Linked DNA regions of Homo sapiens: region 1 is linked to region 2. Evidence: promoter capture Hi-C in 16 types of primary human blood cells and fetal thymus (Javierre and others, 2016). All regions are on one chromosome and are shown on one strand. The core of a region is centred on a gene start or on the middle of the fragment in contact, and the rest is flanking DNA. Distances in the headings are between cores, read along the strand shown.

What was found. Contacts are between HindIII fragments. The CHiCAGO score rates a contact against its expected background, and 5 or more counts as called.
Region 1: a fragment that was not itself captured here is called in contact with the fragment with the promoter of CAPRIN1 in region 2 in 2 of 17 cell types (monocytes and fetal thymus); the score reaches 5.4 in monocytes.

The regions. Positions count from the first base shown.
Region 1 is chr11:34,461,349-34,465,952 of GRCh38, reverse strand. It overlaps CAT (catalase), which reads right to left. Exons shown (of 13, transcript NM_001752.4): 9 at 4,564-4,604; 10 at 1,718-1,848. Among named protein-coding and RNA genes, the nearest start is that of CAT, 25 kb to the right of the region's middle. The HindIII fragment of the contact is 2,751 bases long and covers 12-2,762 here.
Region 2 is chr11:34,048,398-34,053,036 of GRCh38, reverse strand. CAPRIN1 (cell cycle associated protein 1) reads right to left here and starts at 1,306. Exons shown (of 19, transcript NM_005898.5): 1 at 1,166-1,306; 2 at 401-616. The coding sequence starts at 616. LOC101929918 (a long non-coding RNA gene) reads left to right here. Exons shown (of 3, transcript XR_931177.3): 1 at 1-718; 2 at 2,004-2,366. RefSeq lists an enhancer at 23-92 and silencers at 703-1,002, 1,043-1,592, 1,452-1,651. The HindIII fragment of the contact is 10,606 bases long and covers 1-4,639 here.

The sequences.
Region 1 (4,604 bases), core at 138-2,637, 410 kb before region 2:
AATGTCAAGCTTACTTCACTGCACTTTTTTTTCCTGCACTTCTTTTCCATCTTTGATCTTGGTCCCTTAAATCCTTGTTGCTTTGTTAGCTCTCCAAAGCCTTCAAACAAGTGCTTTATGTATTTTACCTACCTTTTCAATGTTCTCCATGAAACGGTAAGTAAGATACAAGCTAGTCTGCCATAGACAGATGCAAGCCCAAGTGAATCATTTTTAAGAGAATAAATCTGGACCTTCTTATGTATTTCCCATGTGATACATCATCACAGAATTATGCTATGAATCTATAACAATAGTATTGTGATTACTTAAAAACCACACTATATCCTATATAGTGATAAGAAATTCTCTCAATAAGAATGAGCACATAATAAATTTTCATGTGTAAGCAATAGCCTCATTAATTTTTGCAGGGGTTGTATGAGCTGGTTTAATACCTGTATTGACCTCACATAGGCAAAATTCTTTGAGAGGCAGGGAATGTACTGTAATATACTTGGTGTCATCTGCATCACCAAAAATAATGCAGTTACATAAAAGGTATGCAGGAAATGTTTTAAGCTCATCTAAAAATGGTTTATATCCCACAATAATGTAATTTCTTTTTTATATATACGTATATATGTATATACGTAAATGCTTTTCAAGCAAAGATATCCTCACAGCGAATTAATTCATGTATAAGTATTTTTTACTTGGAACCCACATTCACAAACTGAGAAACTAGAAATAGGTTCTAATCTAATTTAAATACTAAGTTTAACACTAACTGCTCAAACAGAGCTCTAGAACAACTATACCTTTAACTTTATTATTTTATTGTGTGTGGTATAAGTTGCACTGGACACATTAAGGAGGCAGCTGCCCACCTACAGCCCTTCCAAGTCCAAGGGCCTCCTTCATAGCATGTGCTGAAACAGCTCTTAGGGCAGCCATAGGCAACTGGAAAGAGGATGAGCATTTGCCCTGGGGCGGTTAACTAGAGCCTGACCAAGGCCAATGGTGCAACCTGGGGTGAAAAGATTAGCCAAGTCAATAGGATTCCATCTCTCTAGAATCTAGAGATAGACATGTTGAGAGAAGGAGTAAAAGGTGGTCCAAAAAAAAAAAGTAATAATGGAGAAAGACGCCATAAAGGAGAGTTTTCCATTGTTGTGGAAGAGCCACAACCATGATAAAACAGAAGCTCTGACGCAGATAGGAGAAAACAGGAAGCTGTGGTAAAAATAATCAATTAGCATTGGCAAGCAGAAGCAGACAGATGGAGAATAAGCCACGTGAAGGACGAGCCCTGCAGTGGAAACGCCCACACTCTTGTGGCCGAGGCTCCTGGAGCTATTTTGGATCTCTAGTTCTAGTCCTTGAACCTGGACTGTCCTGCCCAGATTCTTAGATTTGTCTCCACGTAAGCTGTACATGCTCATTTCTTAAATTCCCATGAGATAACTGTTTCCCCAATGCCCCCTCCCCATATCCCTTCAATAAAGTTTGAAGAAACTGAGACGGAGTCTGCATGCTTTGAGGCAAAAGACCAGAGTAATATAACCCTTCAACTCCACCCAGTAAGGGGCCCAATTTACTATTACAGATGAGTCTTCCTTGAATTCAATTTAAGATACATCAGACAGTTGGGGCATTTGCAGGGAGGGGGATTATGCAGGCATTGACAAGGAGAATTAGCAGGTGACTTCCATAGCAGATAAAGAGAAGTCATTACCTGAGTAACGTTATCATCATTGGCAGTGTTGAATCTCCGCACTTCTCCAGAATATTGGATGCTGTGCTCCAGGGCAGAAGGCTGTTGTTCCGGAGCACCAAAGCTGTTGGGGTAGTAATTTGGAGCACCACCTTCAAAACAAAACCACCCAGATGCACTTAGGAATAAGAAAAGTCAAGTAAGTCTGCAAATAATCACTGTGATGAGAAATAAATTCAAGTGGTAATCAAATACACACGTACACATACACAGATATAAACACAACGCACACATATTATTTTTAATTTCCCGCATTTAGCTACAGGTAGTATGAAGATTCTTAGGGAACGCTGCCATCTGCTAAATGCTTGCACAGGCTGCCGCACTTTATGAATGAATCTCAAAGTCCCTTTTGACACTTCAAAGGGTCTCATCTATCAAGTCTTCTGAGGGGTACAGCACATGTAGAAGTTTATACAGGCTTGATTTGGCCACCATATAGGGATGAGGCTCAAAGACACATTTCAAAATTGACTTGAAAAATTGTGTCATTTGGACTTGGGCTCAATTCAAACACTGCATCACAAAATTCTTGAGGGAAATCTGAAAGTTCTGGTTCTGCTCCTTGAATCTACAGACACAAGCATGGAGCTCTGTGATGGGACCTGACTGCTGCAAGGTCACACGGTAGCCAGTGGTAGATATGGGGTTGGAACTCTGGGTTTTTTGTCTCCTCCAGCCCAGCATATACAGTATTTCCATTACAGAACTCTACTTTGCTATTCCGTAAAGTGTTTTTAGGATTCTCAGGGTATCTCTCCTTTACTGACAATGATGACTTTGTTCCATTGTAGCTTCACTTTCATACCCTCCACAGACCAATAAACAAAGAATTTTTTAAAATGTGGTAATTGTATATCAGCACTTACTTATCTGGACTTATAAGAAACAGTGACAAATACAATCAAAATATTTTCTATGACTTTTGAAATAAATTATAAGGCTTTTTTTTCGTTTTAGCATATTTATTTTCTCAACTATGCTTTGGCTGACATTAGCAGAAGCTTTCATTACCCGAGCACACACTGCCTAAACAGGAGTGGCCCAGAAACATATTAAGTGGTTTGAGCAAACCAATCTGGGGTTGGAATTTTAGCCAGCTCACTGCCGTAATAGATTATCCACAGTGGATAATCAAGAGGTGCCTATGTATGACATTCATCAAGACACCAAGTGTGTGTGTAGGGGAAGGAAGAACACCATACTATTATAGAGCCCAATTATTCACTCAACAAATTCAACAGATCAGTCACATCTACATGAAAAGCAAAATGCTCCAAAAACCAGCCATCACAGTGTTTTCTTCATTAAGAACTAGCTCTTTGAAATGTGCCTAGTTAATTTTTAAAATCCTACTTCCAAATGAGCCCTGACCTTTACTCAAAGTGGTAGTTGTCTTTAAAGCACTGACCACAGGAACAATTAAGCTCTTTCACTGAGCTTCAGGGTCACAGCCCAAATGCTCTACTTTTACAATCAAGCCAGGCGCGGTGGCTCATGCCTGTAATCTCAGCACTTTGGGGGGCCAAAGTGGGTGGGTCACCTGAGGTCAAGAGTTCAGGACCAGCCTGGCCAATGAAACCCTGTCTCTACTAAAAATACAAAAATTAGCTGGCGTGGTGGCACACTCCTATACTTCCAGCTACTCGGGAGGCTGAGGCATGAGAATCTCTTGAACCCAGAGGCAGAGGCTGCAGTGAGCCAAGATCATGCACTGCACTCCAGCCTGGGCAACAGAGTGAGACTCTGTCTAAAAAATAAATAAATAGATAAATAAATATAGCAAAATGTAATAGCTATGACCTTTGGGTGTTGGGACTATATGGGAATTTTTCTTTTTTCTTCTTTTTCCTATATATTCCAAATTTTCTTTAGGACACTTGTATTATTTTTATCATAGAAAAATAAACTTTGTTTGAATATAGACATCTGTGGCTATAAATATAAATCATCAGTAAAATTTCTAAAGGGATCAATGCATGCAGTCTATATTACTAAAACACGTGTCCTAAATGGGAAAAGAAAATAACTAAGATCTATATTAAACTGTGGAATAGTAAAAGGAAAAAACTTTAATCAAGCATTCTGCTTGACTTATTAGAAAAAGTAATTAGAACCAGAGGCTGTTTGTATACGACACCAAAAAAAAAGTAGTTAAAAGAAAAAGATCCTAAGTTTGATAAATGAGTTCCAAAAAACAAAAAGTGGTAAGTTGATTCACCTAACTTTATTCACTTAGGAAAAAATGAAGGGAGGGGAATCCTTTGACTTGCTCTGCCTCCCCTACTCTCTTCTCCCCAGCCTTCCCTGCTAATTCTAGCTCCCCTCCAAATTCTAGCTAGACCTGCTCCTCCAGGGCCACAGCAGAACTGCAAAGAGAAACAGAAGACTCCAACTCTTGGCTTTCGCACTTCCAAGGGTCTAAGTCTTGGTGATTTCACAGTGAGTTAAGGAATTGTCCATTTTGGTGAAGTGTCTTCAAAACCTAACTCCCAAGCTGGATGTTACTGTACTCTAGCCAGTGTGAAAGATCTTTCTCCCTGCTTTTAACTACTGGATACAAGTAACATCTGAGGTGGAAATGCTCAATAAAATATATAAAATAGATAAAAAGCATGGAGAGTCCTCAGGCAGCCTAAATCTTCACTGCTGGGCAAAAAAGCGCCCAGTTAGCAGCACCTGGGGAGCACCTTTACCAAGCAGGAGGTCCTGCGGGGCCAGCTTGAGAGCCACTGGCCTGGCCTCCCGCCCATCTGCTCCACGTGCCCTCTGCCCACGCAGGGGGAGCCCAACGTCTTTAGGCCTACCCTGATTGTCCTGCATGCACATCGGGCCGTCACGCTGGTAG
Region 2 (4,639 bases), core at 57-2,556:
CCGCGCAGGGACCTCTTCATTTTGGGCCCTCGTCAGAGAAATCGGGCCTCAGAGACGGAAAGAAGGGCACCATACAGTGAAGTCCTGACGACAGGCCCCCACCCTCACATGTCCCACTCCTAAAGGCCAAAAAGCCGGACCCACAGCGGAAGAGTAATAAAGAGGCCTGGGGTACAGTGCCGCGTCCGAGTCAGGTGACAAGTGCCTCTTCCAAGAGCCCGTTTTCTGGGCACGAAGCTCCCGCTGAACGTGGAGACGGGGCGTGTGGGCCAGGGGGTGGGAGGAGGGGACCTAGTAACGCTCCCGAGACGAAAAGAAGCGAAGGCTCCAGCGACCAGGGTCGGAGGGGCCGCAGAGCCCGGCCGCAGCCACCCCTCCCTTCCCCGCCAACTCCTGGCACCTTTTTCTTCTCCAGGTTCCGAAGTTTCTTGTCGATCACCCCGAGAATCTGCTTCATGGCCTCGGTCTGGACAGCGCCGGTGCCGGTTGCGGGGTGCTGAGAAGCCGGCGCGGCGGCCCCGGCTCCCGCGGCCGCCTCACTCCCGGAGGAACCCGACGGCGGTGGCGGTCCGGACGACTTGCTGCCGCTCCCGCTGTGGCTGGTGGCCGAGGGCATCTTCAGACCGCAAGGAGAGAGAAGAAAAAGCGGGAGGAAGGACAAGAGCGGCCAGTCAGGAGACGGACGGGGCGAGACGCGGGACAAAACGCGCAGCGAGCGGTAGCCTACGCGAGCGGGTGGGGGAGGGGGCGCGGCGCGCCTCGAGGGCAGGAAGAGTGCGCGGGCGCGCGCGCGACCCGCCAGCGGGGCGCCCGGCTGGGCCTCGCACCGCCCCCCGACCCGCCCCTCCCCCGCGGAGCCGCCGGCTCGGCCTACCAGCCCGGGGGCTCCGAGGCTCGCGCCGGAGGCGGGGCATCGCCGCGCCGGCCGCCAACGGCCACTGCAACGGTCCCTACCGGGGAGGGCCGGCTTTTGCCGGCTTCCGGAGAAGGGAGGAAAGAGAGAGGTCGGGGCTTGGGGGCAGAGAAGGGCATGGGAAATGACCGGGGTGGGGTGGGGGGACTTGGGGGCAAGCCCCTCGGAAGCTCCAGCGGGTCCGGAGATAAAGGACACCCGGGCGCAGCGGCCCTCTTCCCCTGCAGCGGCTCGGTCCCGGGTGGCGCTCACCGTGCGCGCGCGGAGGCCGCTGGAAATCACGAGTGGGCAGCTGAGGGGGCAAGGGTGGTGGTCCCTTCCGGGCAGTGTCGCGCGCTCCGTGGGCGCAGGCCGCTTCGCCCTGTCCCGCTGCACCGAGAGCCGCTCCTAGTGAGGCGAGAGCCGGGAGCGGGAGGGACTTAGCCAGCCAGCAGCCCTCTGGGTCGCGAGGGGCGGGAGAAGCGGAGAGCGGGGGCCTTCGCGGCCGCTCGGGCTGCCCGGCGCGAACGCCTGCCCGGAAGAGGCCGCCCGCTAGCTTCTCCGCCGTCCCCCGGCCCCGGCGCTGTGGGGCGCCTCCTGGACGCAGGTGGGGATGGCCCCGGCAAGGCCGAAGGAAAGGCCCCTTGAGTTTTGAGAGCAATCGACGCTAGGGTCCTTCAGGCGAAATCGTTTGACGCCCAAACGGGGACAATAGGTGTCAAGCAGCTGGCTCTGGAGCTGGCAACTGCCCCTTGAAGAGCCCTTATTTGGGGTGGGGGTGGGGGTTGGGGGGCAAAGGTTTCTGCAAGTAAGGGGTGCGTGGGGTGGGTGGTGCGATCCCAGCTTCTAGAATTCCTTCTGTATGCAGAGCGAGCAAACTCCATACCCCAAAACGTCTTTTGAAAAAAAGACAACTCGCCGCTTCCCCACCAAACAATCACCCAGTAACCTAGGAGTTCTCTGTAGAACGTGTCGGACACGGTCATGGTTGGTGGCTTTTTAAATCCTAAAGCTCTGGCCTCACAAAGAGTCTTCAGCTACCCTATGATGTTATACATCCAGTAGGCCTGAGTATTACGAATTATTAGACTTTTGTTTCCTTTTTTTTTAGGTTTACCTAACACTGTAAAGAGAACGTTCAATGAAATACAAAGAAAAAGATGATTTTTTTGCTCCAAGAGAATTATTCCAGCCTTGGGGTGGAGTGGGTGTGGACAGTGAGCAGAAAAACAAGAAACCAAGTTCTGGGAGGAAATAAAATGAATATAATCAGTGGAAAATTCAGCAACGCAATATTGTGTGACAACAGTAAATGACCAATTTATAATTTAAATTCTATGAAAAAGAGATTTAGAAGAGAGTTCTACCAAACCCACTGTTCCCTAGGGAATAAAATGAGTAACGCTGACTGGCAACAGTGCATCCTGAGGGAGCCTGGAGAAACAACAGCAGCCTCCGACCTCAAGATATCCTGGTTAGCTGCAAAGTCTGTTATATATTCATTCAAATATTTATTAAGCACCTTACTGTGTGCTGGGAACTCTTAAGTGCTAGGGATTATGAACAAAACATATTTACATGGAGCTTACAATCTAAGTAAGGGGAAGACAAGTAAATACATGTCAGATAGTGAAATGGTAGAGAAAAGAAAAAACGGTGGTCAGGGAAAGCCTTACTGACATTTGAGCTAGTACTGAAGGAAGTGAGGAAGAAGGCTAAGCAGCTACCTTGGAGGAGGAATTTTCCAGGTAGAGGAAACACCAAGTACTAAGATCTGAGACGGAGTGTGCTTTTTGGGTTCAAGGAACAGCACGGAAACCATAGTGGCAAGAGCAGAGAGTAGGAGATGAGGTCAAACATATTAAAGGGGGCTGGTCTTGTAGGGCCTGAAAGACCACGGTAAGGACTTTGGCTTTTGCTGCATTAGATGGGGAGTCATAGTTTCAAAATTTAGTCACCTAAACCATCCTTAGCACTACGCTGAGCAATTATGCCAGGCCTAGAGGCTAGAAACGGAGATGATAATCCTTTAGCTCCTTGCAACTCAAAGTTTATTCAGCCCAACCTCTCTCACTACCACTATCACTACTATCTTGGACTGCATAGCAGACTTAACTGAATCTACATTTTAACAAGATCTTCAGGAGATTTGTGTGTACATTAAAGTTTCAGAAATCACTGTTTTGTTCCTCGGAATTGACCAATGTCTAAAGTTTTATTGGGAGACATCCAATCCATCTATGCACATCCATTCTATGACTGCCTCTCTGCCATAGCACAGCAGAGTTGAGTACTTGGGTGTGCAACAGACAGTAGGGTGTGCAAAACCTAGAATACTATCTCTTCTTTTACAAAAAAAGTGTTTGCCAATCCCTGGTTTAAAACTACAAAGGGGCCAGGTGAAGGGGCTCATGCCTGTAATTCCAACACTTTGGGAAGCCAAGGCTGGCAGATCACTTGAGGTCAGGAGTTCGAGACCAGCCTGGCCAATATGGCAAATCCTGTCTCTACTAAAAATACAAAAAAATTTGCTGGGTGTGGTGGCGCATGCCTGTAATTACAGCTGCTCAGGAGGTTGAGGCACGAGAACCCGGGAGGCAGAGGCTGCAGTGAGCCAAGATTGTGCCACTGCATTCCAGCCTAAGCAACAGAGTGAGACTGTCTCAAAAAACAAAAAACAACTGCAAATGGTACACATCCATCACAGTTCAACAGAGGGCCCTGTTCGTAGTAGTCACTCAGTAGATTCATGCTGATGCCATATCTCAAGTGTTGCTGATCACTGTACCACAAGAGAACTCAGGAATATCTCAGTCAATTAAATGCTTTAGACAAGTAGATATGCATCACATCTGCTTAAATTCATTGGCCAAAAAGAGTCACATGACCCTATCCAACTATAAGGGAGTCAAGAGATGGTATTCTATCAGATGCCGGGTAGGAAGCAGATGAGCCAGAAATATTTGGTGAATATATGAAGCTGTCACGCTTTCACTTCCTATATCATCCCAATCCCATTTCATTGGTGTTCTGACATTCTGCGTTTGTCTGTTCAGGTCAGCAAGTCCAGAAAGACCAATAAATTTAAGGCAAAGCTGTGTCCTAAAGCTCACTTCCTGCCCAGATCAATGCCAAGGTCTCAGTCATTCAAATTTGTGTATTTCCTACTTGACTGAAGCTATGTTTATGTGAATTTTAAATACTCATTTTTTAAACCCTTTTTTCTAGTACAGAGCTATGCAGTAACTTGCAGTCATTGCATCATTGAAGAAATAAAGGGTTCCCAGAAAACACACTGGAGGAGCAGAATATGTTTATAAATGGTTTATAAATTTAAAAACCTTGGTATACTTTAATATATGCCAATATTAAATATATTAACATAAAGCAAATACAACAATATGCAAAATAATATATTTCAATAACAAATCTTTCAAGCTGACATTTGCTTGTTCAATTCATTAGACCACAGCACTTTGAAGTTTCCACAAAGTGAATAATTAAACTATTTATCCTGATCATTTTAGCAAAATAATTCAACTGCTTGAACTTGAGTCACCCAATAAGCTAATGCTTATTTGTAGCAAAAGAGAGGAATCTTCATCTGAATTATATGAACTGCCTCTTTGTTTCAGGTTGACAGAAACCTGACCAAAGTGTGAACTACACTGTTCACATAGCTAAGGCTCTTAAAGTTTCTTAAATTTGTTTTTCCATCATTTTACTACAAGTCAGGAGTAGACATTT